Linked DNA regions of Homo sapiens: all the other regions are linked to region 2. The links are contacts of gene promoters, found by promoter capture Hi-C in human tissues and cell types (Jung and others, 2019). All regions are on one chromosome and are shown on one strand. Each heading gives the region's core, a stretch centred on a gene start or on the middle of the fragment in contact. The rest is flanking DNA. Distances are from core to core; before and after follow the strand shown. Region 1 has its middle 100 kb from the start of RDUR. Region 2 holds the start of CEP97 (centrosomal protein 97). Region 3 has its middle 170 kb from the start of RDUR.

Region 1 (2,700 bases), core at 136-2,635, 320 kb after region 2:
TTTTCAACATTCCATAAAGTTATCCTGAGATAACCATTTTTTAAAAATTAAAATTATTATAGTATGTAGTCTATTCACTTGTGACATAAAGAGCTAGTGCTCACCAAACATTGTATGTGTTTCCATTTATTTTCTAGCCTCTTTTGCCTTTCAGTTGGGGCCACATGCCTAGTTCTGGCCAGTGAATAATAAGTGGAAGAGGGGGCGGTTCCAAGATGGCCAAGTAGGAACAGTTCCAGTCTACAGCTCCCAGCACGAGCAATGCAGAAGACAGATGATTTCTGCATTTCCAACTGAGGTACCAGGTTCATCTCACTGGGGATTGTCAGACAGTGGGTGCAGGACAGTGGGTGCAGTGCACCAAGTGTGAGCCGAAGCAGTGTGAGGCATTGCCTCACCCGGGAAGCACAAGGGGTCAGGGAATTCCCTTTCCTAGCCAAGAAAAGGGGTGACAGACGGCACCTGGAAAATCAGGTCACTCCCACCCATATACTGCACTTTTCCGATGGTCTTAGCAAATGGCACACCAGGAGATTATATCCCGCACCTAGCTTGGAGGGTCCTATGGCCACGAAGCCTCGCTTGTTGCTAGCACAGCAGTCTGAGATCAAACTACAAGGCGGCAGTGAGGCTGGGGGAGGGGAACACGCCATTGCTGAGGCTTGAGCAGGTAAACAAAGTGGCCAGGAAGCTTGAACTGGGTGGAGCCCACCGCAGCTCAAGGAGGCCTGCTTGCCTCTGCAGACTCCACCTCTGGGGGCAGGGCATAGCCAAACAAAAGGCAGCAGAAACCTCTGCAGACTTAAATGTCCCTGTCTGACAGCTTGGAAGACAGTAGTGGTTCTCCCAGCATGCAGCTTGAGATCTGAGAATGGACAGACTGCCTCCTCAAGTGGGTCCCTGACTCCTGAGTAGCCTAACTGGGAGGCACTCCCCAGTAGGGGCAGACTGACACCTCACATGGCTGGGTACCTCTCTGAGACAAAACTTCCAGAGGAACGATCAGCCAGCAACATTTGCTGTTCACCAATATTCACTGATCTGCAGCCTCCACTGCTGATACCCAGGCAAACAGGGTCTGGAGTGGACCTCTAGCAAACTCCAATGGACCTGCAACTGAGGTTTCTGACTGTTAGAAGGAAAACTAACCAACAGAGAGGACATCCACACCAAAACCCCATCTGTACATCACCATCATCAAAGACCAAAGGTAGATAAAACCACAAAGATGGGGAAAAAACAGAGCAGAAAAACTGAAAATTGTAAAAATCAGAGCACCTCTCCTCCTCCAAAGGAACGCAGCTCCTCACCAGCAATGGAACAAAGCTGGATGGAGAGTGACTTTGACGAGTTGAGAGAAGAAGGCTTTAGATGATCAAACTACTCTGAGCTAAAGGAGGAAGTTCGAACTCATTGCAAAGAAGTTAAAAACCTTGAAAAAAAATTAGACGAATGGCTAACTAGAATAACCAATGCAGATAATTCCTTAAAGGTCCTGATGGAGCTGAAAACCATGGCACGAGAAATACATGATGAATGCACAAGCCTCAGTAGCCGATTCGATCAACTGGAAGAAAGGATATCAGTGATGGAAGATGAAATGAATGAAATGAAGCAAGAAGAGAAGTTTAGAGAAAAAAGAATAAAAAGAAATCAACAAAGCCTCCAAGAAATATGGGACTATGTGAAAAGAGCAAATCTACGTCAGATTGGTGTACGTGAAAGTGACAGGGAGAATGGAACAAAGTTGGAAAACAGTCTGCAGGATATTATCCAGGAGAACTTCCCCAATCTAGCAAGGCAGGCCAACATTCAAATTTAGGAAATACAGAGAATGCCACAAAGATACTCCTTGAGAAGAGCAACTCCAAGACACATAATTGTCAGATTCACCAAGGTTGAAATGAAGGAAAAAATGTTAAGTGCAGCCAGAGAGAAAGGTCAGGTTACCCACAAAGGGAAGCCCATCAGACTAACAGCTGATCTCTTAGCAGAAACTCTACAAGCCAGAAGAGAGTGGGGGCCAATATTCAACATTCTTAAAGGAAAGAATTTTGAAGCCAGAATTTCATATCCAGCCAAACTAAGCTTCATAAGTGAAGGAGAAATAAAATCCTTTACAGACAAGCAAATGCTGAGAGATTTTGTCACCACCAGGCTTGCCCTAAAAGAGCTCCTGAAGGAAGCACTAAACATGGAAAGGAACAACCAGCAAAAGCCACTGCAAAAACATGCCAAATTGTAAAGACCATCAAGGCTAGGAAGAAACTGCATCAACTAATGAGCAAAATAACCAGCTAACATCATAATGACAGGATCAAATTCACACATAACAATATTAACCTTAAATGTAAATGGGCTAAATGCTCCAATTAAAAGACACAGACTGGCAAATTGGTTAAAAAGTCAAGACCCATCAGTGCGCTGTATCCAGGAAACCCATCTCACATGCAGAGACCCACGTAGGCTCAAAATAAAGGGATGGAGGAAGATCTACCAAGCAAATGGAAAACAAAAAAAGGCAGGTGTTGCAATCCTAGTCTCTGATAAAACAGACTTTAAACCAACAAAGATCAAAAGAGACAAAGAAGGCCATTACATAATGGAAAAGGGATCAATTCAACAAGAAGAGCTAACTATCCTAAATATGTATGCACCCAATATAGGAGCACCCAGATTCATAAAGCAAGTCCTTAGTGA
Region 2 (2,746 bases), core at 75-2,574:
ATATATAATATATAAATATATAACATATATAATATATAATATATAAATATATAACATATATAATATATAATATATAAATATATAACATATATAATATATAAATGTATAACATATATAATATATAAATATATAACATATAACATATATATCTAAATATATAACATATATAATATATAATATCTAAATATATAACATATATAATATATAATATCTAAATATATGACATATATAATATATAATATCTAAATATATAACATATATAATATATAATATATAAATATATGACATATATAATATATCTAAATATATAACATATATAATATATAATATCTAAATATATAACATATATAATATATAATATCTAAATATATAACATATAATATATAATATCTAAATATATAACATATATAATATATAATTTATATATAATTATAATATATGCAATATCTATATAAAATATATATATTTTTGAGACATAGTTTCGCTCTTGTTGCCCAGGCTGGAGTGCAGTGGCATGATATCGGCTCACTGCAACCTCTGCCTCCCGGGTTCAAGCGATTCTCCTGCCTCAGCCTCCCGAGTACCTGGGATTACAGGCATGCGCCGCCACGCCAGGCTAATTTTTTTGTATTTTTACTACAGACGGGGTTTCTCCATGTTGGCCAGGCGGGTCTCGAATTCCCGACCTCAGGTGATCAGCCTGCGTTGACCTCCCAAAGTGCTGGGATTACAGACGTGAACCACTGCGCCCGGCCTGGAGATTATATTTTAAAGTTATTTTGAATACTCCCTGGAAAAGTTCTTGGTTCATACTTATACCCGTAAGTCAAAAGATTTGTCAAATATTCAAGAACAATCAAACAATCACTTAAAAATACTGTATAAAAGTTTCTATTTCGGCATACTTTACTTTTACTTAACTAAAATTTCAAATAAAATGTATCCACTTTTATGATCTCAACAAGATCGGTCATTCCTATAGCGGAGTTGAAAACTTTCAACTTATTCACAATTATCAAAAGAATGGAGCAGCCCCCACAGAGACTTCCAGCAATGAGTTGTAAAATGCAGTCTGCATTAAGTAGCTTCCTTACAATCATCCCGATGGTAAAAGTGTCAAATTTCGCAAACGCCTGGACAAGGAAGTGAAATGATCATCTAATAACGCAGTTGACTCATCTGTCAAATAAGCGAGTGGGCCAGGGTCCCTGAGCTCACTACCCTCAGATTCTAACTCCAGCTTCACATCATTAGGCGTAAGCAGCCAATTGGGCCGTCTGGGAGCCGTGCATCCTGGGAGTTATAGTTTCCGGCTCCCTCCTTCAGATTACAAGCTCCACAGAGCCGCGGGAGGACGGTTGCCTGGTATTATTAGCAAGCAGCAAATATGGCGGTGGCGCGCGTGGACGCGGCTTTGCCTCCCGGAGAAGGTAAGGCGATCCCTACCCCGAGTCCTAAGGTTTACTTCACGGAGCTGAATTAAATAGTGGAGAGCAGAAAACCTAGGTTTAGATGTGCAGTTCTGGACCAGTTCTTTTGATGCGGATCTGTGGTCGTCGCGGAGGCGGGCTACCCTCTGGGAGTTGTAGTTCACCTGCCGTTCCCAGCTCTCCGGCGTCGCGGTGAGGGCCGAGCGGGGGACTACAGCCCCCAGAAGCCTTCGCGCGGCCCGGCGCCCTGGCTCCCGCGCTCCCGATGCTGAGGAGGCGGTGGATTTCGGGCTGCGATGACCTTTCTTGACCATTTACTTTGAGTCATGGGTGCCTAAGCGAAATGTTTGGGATCTCCCTCTTTCGCTTCACACATCTCCCTCTCTTCTTGGTTCCTGGAACCATCAGGAAAACCTTCCCTCAGAGACCGCTGCCTAGTCTGGCTTTGAACCCTTCCTCGGAGGTGGCCAGTGGCCGTGATAAAATCTAAGGGATGATCCAGAGCCCGCAGTTCTGTACTCCTTGTTCTTGCACACGGGTCCTAGGATCGAGTTTGGTCGCTGCCCAGTAGAGCACAGGACTGTGTGGGTGCTTCTGTGGCCTGAAGATACCTACCTCTTTGGGGCGCCGGACGCGAGCTGCTTTTGTTTTGGTTACAGCTCCGAGGCTTGGCAGCAGTCAGTCCTCTAAATCGGGGACAGGGCCCAGGGGTCGAGGCCCGTCTTCATGGCTTAGACCAGGAGTGCATTTTCTGGGAGCTGTAAATTCTTGGGGGAAGAGTTGGTGGATGGTTCTCAGACCTCTCTGTCGACCCCTTGGAATTGTGTACAAAGGCTGTGCACTTTTCTGAGACAGCACACCCCTTTCATCAATTTTTCAGAGGGGCTCACGACTCCTCACATGCTAAGAGCCATTAGACAACGGGAAAACGTTGAAATCCTCCAGGAGAGCAATCTGGCATAATTATTTCCTGCAGTAGTCCTAATCTGGGTGTAAATTTGAAATTGGCCGTTTCTCTGGCCCCGCCCTCTTTGGAGATCGGCTTTTCTTAAACCACACCTCTCAAGCCCACCAGGGCTACTTAACTGTTAATAGCAGTTAACATTTACAGAGCACTTTGTATGACCCAGGCGATGTTCTCAGTCCTTTTTTTTTTTGTTTTTTTTTTTACATTATCTCATTTTCTCTGTAGAACTACATTTATAAGGCAGGTATTATCCCCACTTTACAGAGTAGAAAAGGGAGCCCAAAAGAAATCAATAATTTGCCTAATATACCACAATGGTTAATTGGTGGAGCCAGGGTTTGAACGTCTA
Region 3 (2,769 bases), core at 207-2,706, 380 kb after region 2:
AATGTTGTTTGATAACATTTTATCCACAGCGGAACTTTCAAAATAGGAGTCAATCATATCGAACTTTATCAACGACATTTATGTCTTATCTAAATCCTTTGCTGTCATTTCAACAATGTTCATAGGATCTTCATCAGGAGTAGATACCATTTAAAGAAACTACTTTCTTTGCTCATCCATAAGAAGGAACTCTTCACCCAGTCAAGTTTTATCATAAAATTGCAGCAATTAAATCACATCTTCAGGCTTCACTTCTAATTCTAGTTCTCTTACTATTTCTACCAACTCTGCAGTTACTTCCTCCACTGAATTTTTGGACCCCTTCAAAGTCATCCAGGAGGGCTAGAATGAACTTCTTCTAAACTCCCATTAATGTTGTTATTTTGACTTCTTCCCATGAATCATAAGTGTTGTTAATGGCATCTAGAATAGTGAATCCTTCCCAGAAGGTTTTCAGTTGACTTTGCCCAGGTCCATTAACAGAATCATCTATAGCAGCTATAGCCCTGTGAAATGTATTTCTAAAATAATATTACTTGAAAGTTGAAATTACTCCTTGATCCATGGGCTGCAGAATGGTTAGCAGGCATAAAAACATTAGTCTTGCACACTTTCATCAAGCTCTTGAGTGACTAGAAGAGCCTTGTCAATAAGCAATTATATTTTAAAATGAATCTTTTTTTTCTGAGCAGTAGGTCTCAACAGTGGGCTTAAAATATTCAGTAAACCCTGCTGTAAACAGTTGTGCTGTCATCCACGCTTTGTTGCTTCATTGATAGAGCACAGGCAGAGAAAATTAGCATAATTCTTAAAGGCCCTAGGATATTTCGGAATAGTAAATGAATCTTGGCTTCAAATTAAAGTCACCAGCTGCATTAGCTCCTAACAAGAGAGTCAGATTATTATTCTTTGAAACTTTGAAGCCAGGCATTTACTTCTGTTTAGCTATTAACAGCCTAGATGACATCTTCTTCCAATAGAAGGCTGTTTCATCTGCATTGAAAATCTGTTGTTTAGTGTAGCTACCTTTAGCAATGATTTTAGCTAGGTCTTCTGGATAACATGCTGCAGTTTTTCCACCAGCACTTGCTGCTTTACCTTGCACTTTTAAGTTAAGGAGACAACTTCTTTCCTTAAACCTCATGAACCAACCTCTGCTAGGTTCCAACTTTTCTTTTGTAGCTTCCTCACCTCTTTCTCAGCCTTCTTATAATTGAAGACAGTTAAGGCCTTACCCTGGATTAGGCTTTAGTTTAAGAGAATGTGGTGGCTGGTTTGATCTTGTATCCAGACCTCTAAAACTTTCTCCATATCAGCAATAGCACTCTTTTGCTTTCTTATCATTTGTGTGTTCATTAGAGTAGCATTATACATTTCCTTCAAGAACTTTTTATTTGCATTCACAACTTGGTTAACTGTTTGGCATAGGAGGCCTAGCTTTTGGCCAATCTCAGCTTTTGACACGCCTTTCTAACTAAGCTTAATCATTTCTATTAATAGCTTTTGATTTAAGTGAGGGATGTGAGACTCTTCCTTTCATTTGAATAGCTTAGAGGTCATTGCAGGGTTAATAATTGGCCTAATTTCCATATTATTGTATCTTAGGGTATAGGGAGGCCTGAGAAGATGGAAAGAAACAGAGAATCAGCTGGTTGGTGGACCAGTCAGAGCACACACATTTAATGAGTTCACCGTTTTATACAGGTGCAGTTTGTGGCACCCCAAAACAATAACAATAACAATTGTAAAATCAAAGATCACTGATCACAGATCACCATAAAAGATATAATAATAATAAAAACATTTGAAATATTGAGAGAATTACCAAAATGTGACACACAGACACAAAGTGAGCACATGCTGTTGGAAAGATGGTGCCAATAGACTTGCTCCACACTGGGTTGCCACAAACCTTCAATTTATAAAAAAACCCGCTATCTGCAGAGTAGAAAAAAGCAAAGTATAATAAATTAAGATATACCTGTATTTGTCTTTCTGTGCCTGGCTTATTTCACTTAATATAATGTCCTCTGATTTCATTCATGTTGTCACAAATGACAGGATTTTCTTCTGTTTTAAGGTTGACTAGTATTCCATTGTTTGTACCTCATTTTCTTCATCCATTCATCCCTTGATGGACACCTAGGTTGACTTCATGTCTTGGCTATTGTGAATAATGCTGCAATAAACATGGAAGTATGGCTGTCTCTTTGACATACTGATTTTATTTCCTTTACATATATACCTAGAAGTGGGATTGCTGGATCACAGGATAATTCTCTATTTAACTTTTTGAGGACGCTTCATACTGTTTTCCGTAGTGGCTGTACTAATTTACATTACCACTACAGCGTGCAAGTGTTCCCTTTCCTCCACATCCTCATCAACACTTATCTTTTGTCTTTTTGATAATAGCCATTCTAACAGGTATGAAGTGATATCTTATTGTGGTTTTAATTTGCATTTGTCTGATGGTTAGTGATGCTGAGCATTTTTTTCATATGCCTATTGGCCATTTGTGTGCCTTGTTTTGAGAAATATCTATTCAGATTCTTTTCTCATTTATTAAATGGTTTGTTTTCTTACTATTGAGTTTGTCTGAGTTTCTTATATATTTTGCATATTAACTCCCTATCGGATATATGGTTTGCAAGTAGCTTTTCCCATGACATAAATATTTTTGTACTTGAACTTAGCAAAAGTTAGACCAATATAAAAAGGCATTATTATTAAATGGGTACACAAATTTTACCACCACCATCTTGAGAA

The links. Contacts are between HindIII fragments. The study calls those that stand out against the background at their distance.
Region 1: a fragment that was not itself captured here is called in contact with the fragment with the promoter of CEP97 in region 2 in 1 of the 25 tissues and cell types used here (lymphoblastoid cells).
Region 3: a contact is called between a fragment that was not itself captured here and the fragment with the promoter of CEP97 in region 2, in 1 of the 25 tissues and cell types used here (lymphoblastoid cells).

What each region holds. Positions count from the first base shown.
Region 1 is chr3:102,039,724-102,042,423 of GRCh38, forward strand. No RefSeq gene overlaps it. Among named protein-coding and RNA genes, the nearest start is that of RDUR, 100 kb to the left of the region's middle. The HindIII fragment of the contact is 3,296 bases long and covers 1-2,700 here.
Region 2 is chr3:101,723,290-101,726,035 of GRCh38, forward strand. CEP97 (centrosomal protein 97) reads left to right here and starts at 1,325. Exons shown (of 11, transcript NM_024548.4): 1 at 1,325-1,430. The coding sequence starts at 1,388. RefSeq lists enhancers at 1,301-1,670, 1,951-2,020, 2,192-2,746. The HindIII fragment of the contact is 12,301 bases long and covers 1-2,746 here.
Region 3 is chr3:102,107,009-102,109,777 of GRCh38, forward strand. No RefSeq gene overlaps it. Among named protein-coding and RNA genes, the nearest start is that of RDUR, 170 kb to the left of the region's middle. The HindIII fragment of the contact is 5,825 bases long and covers 1-2,769 here.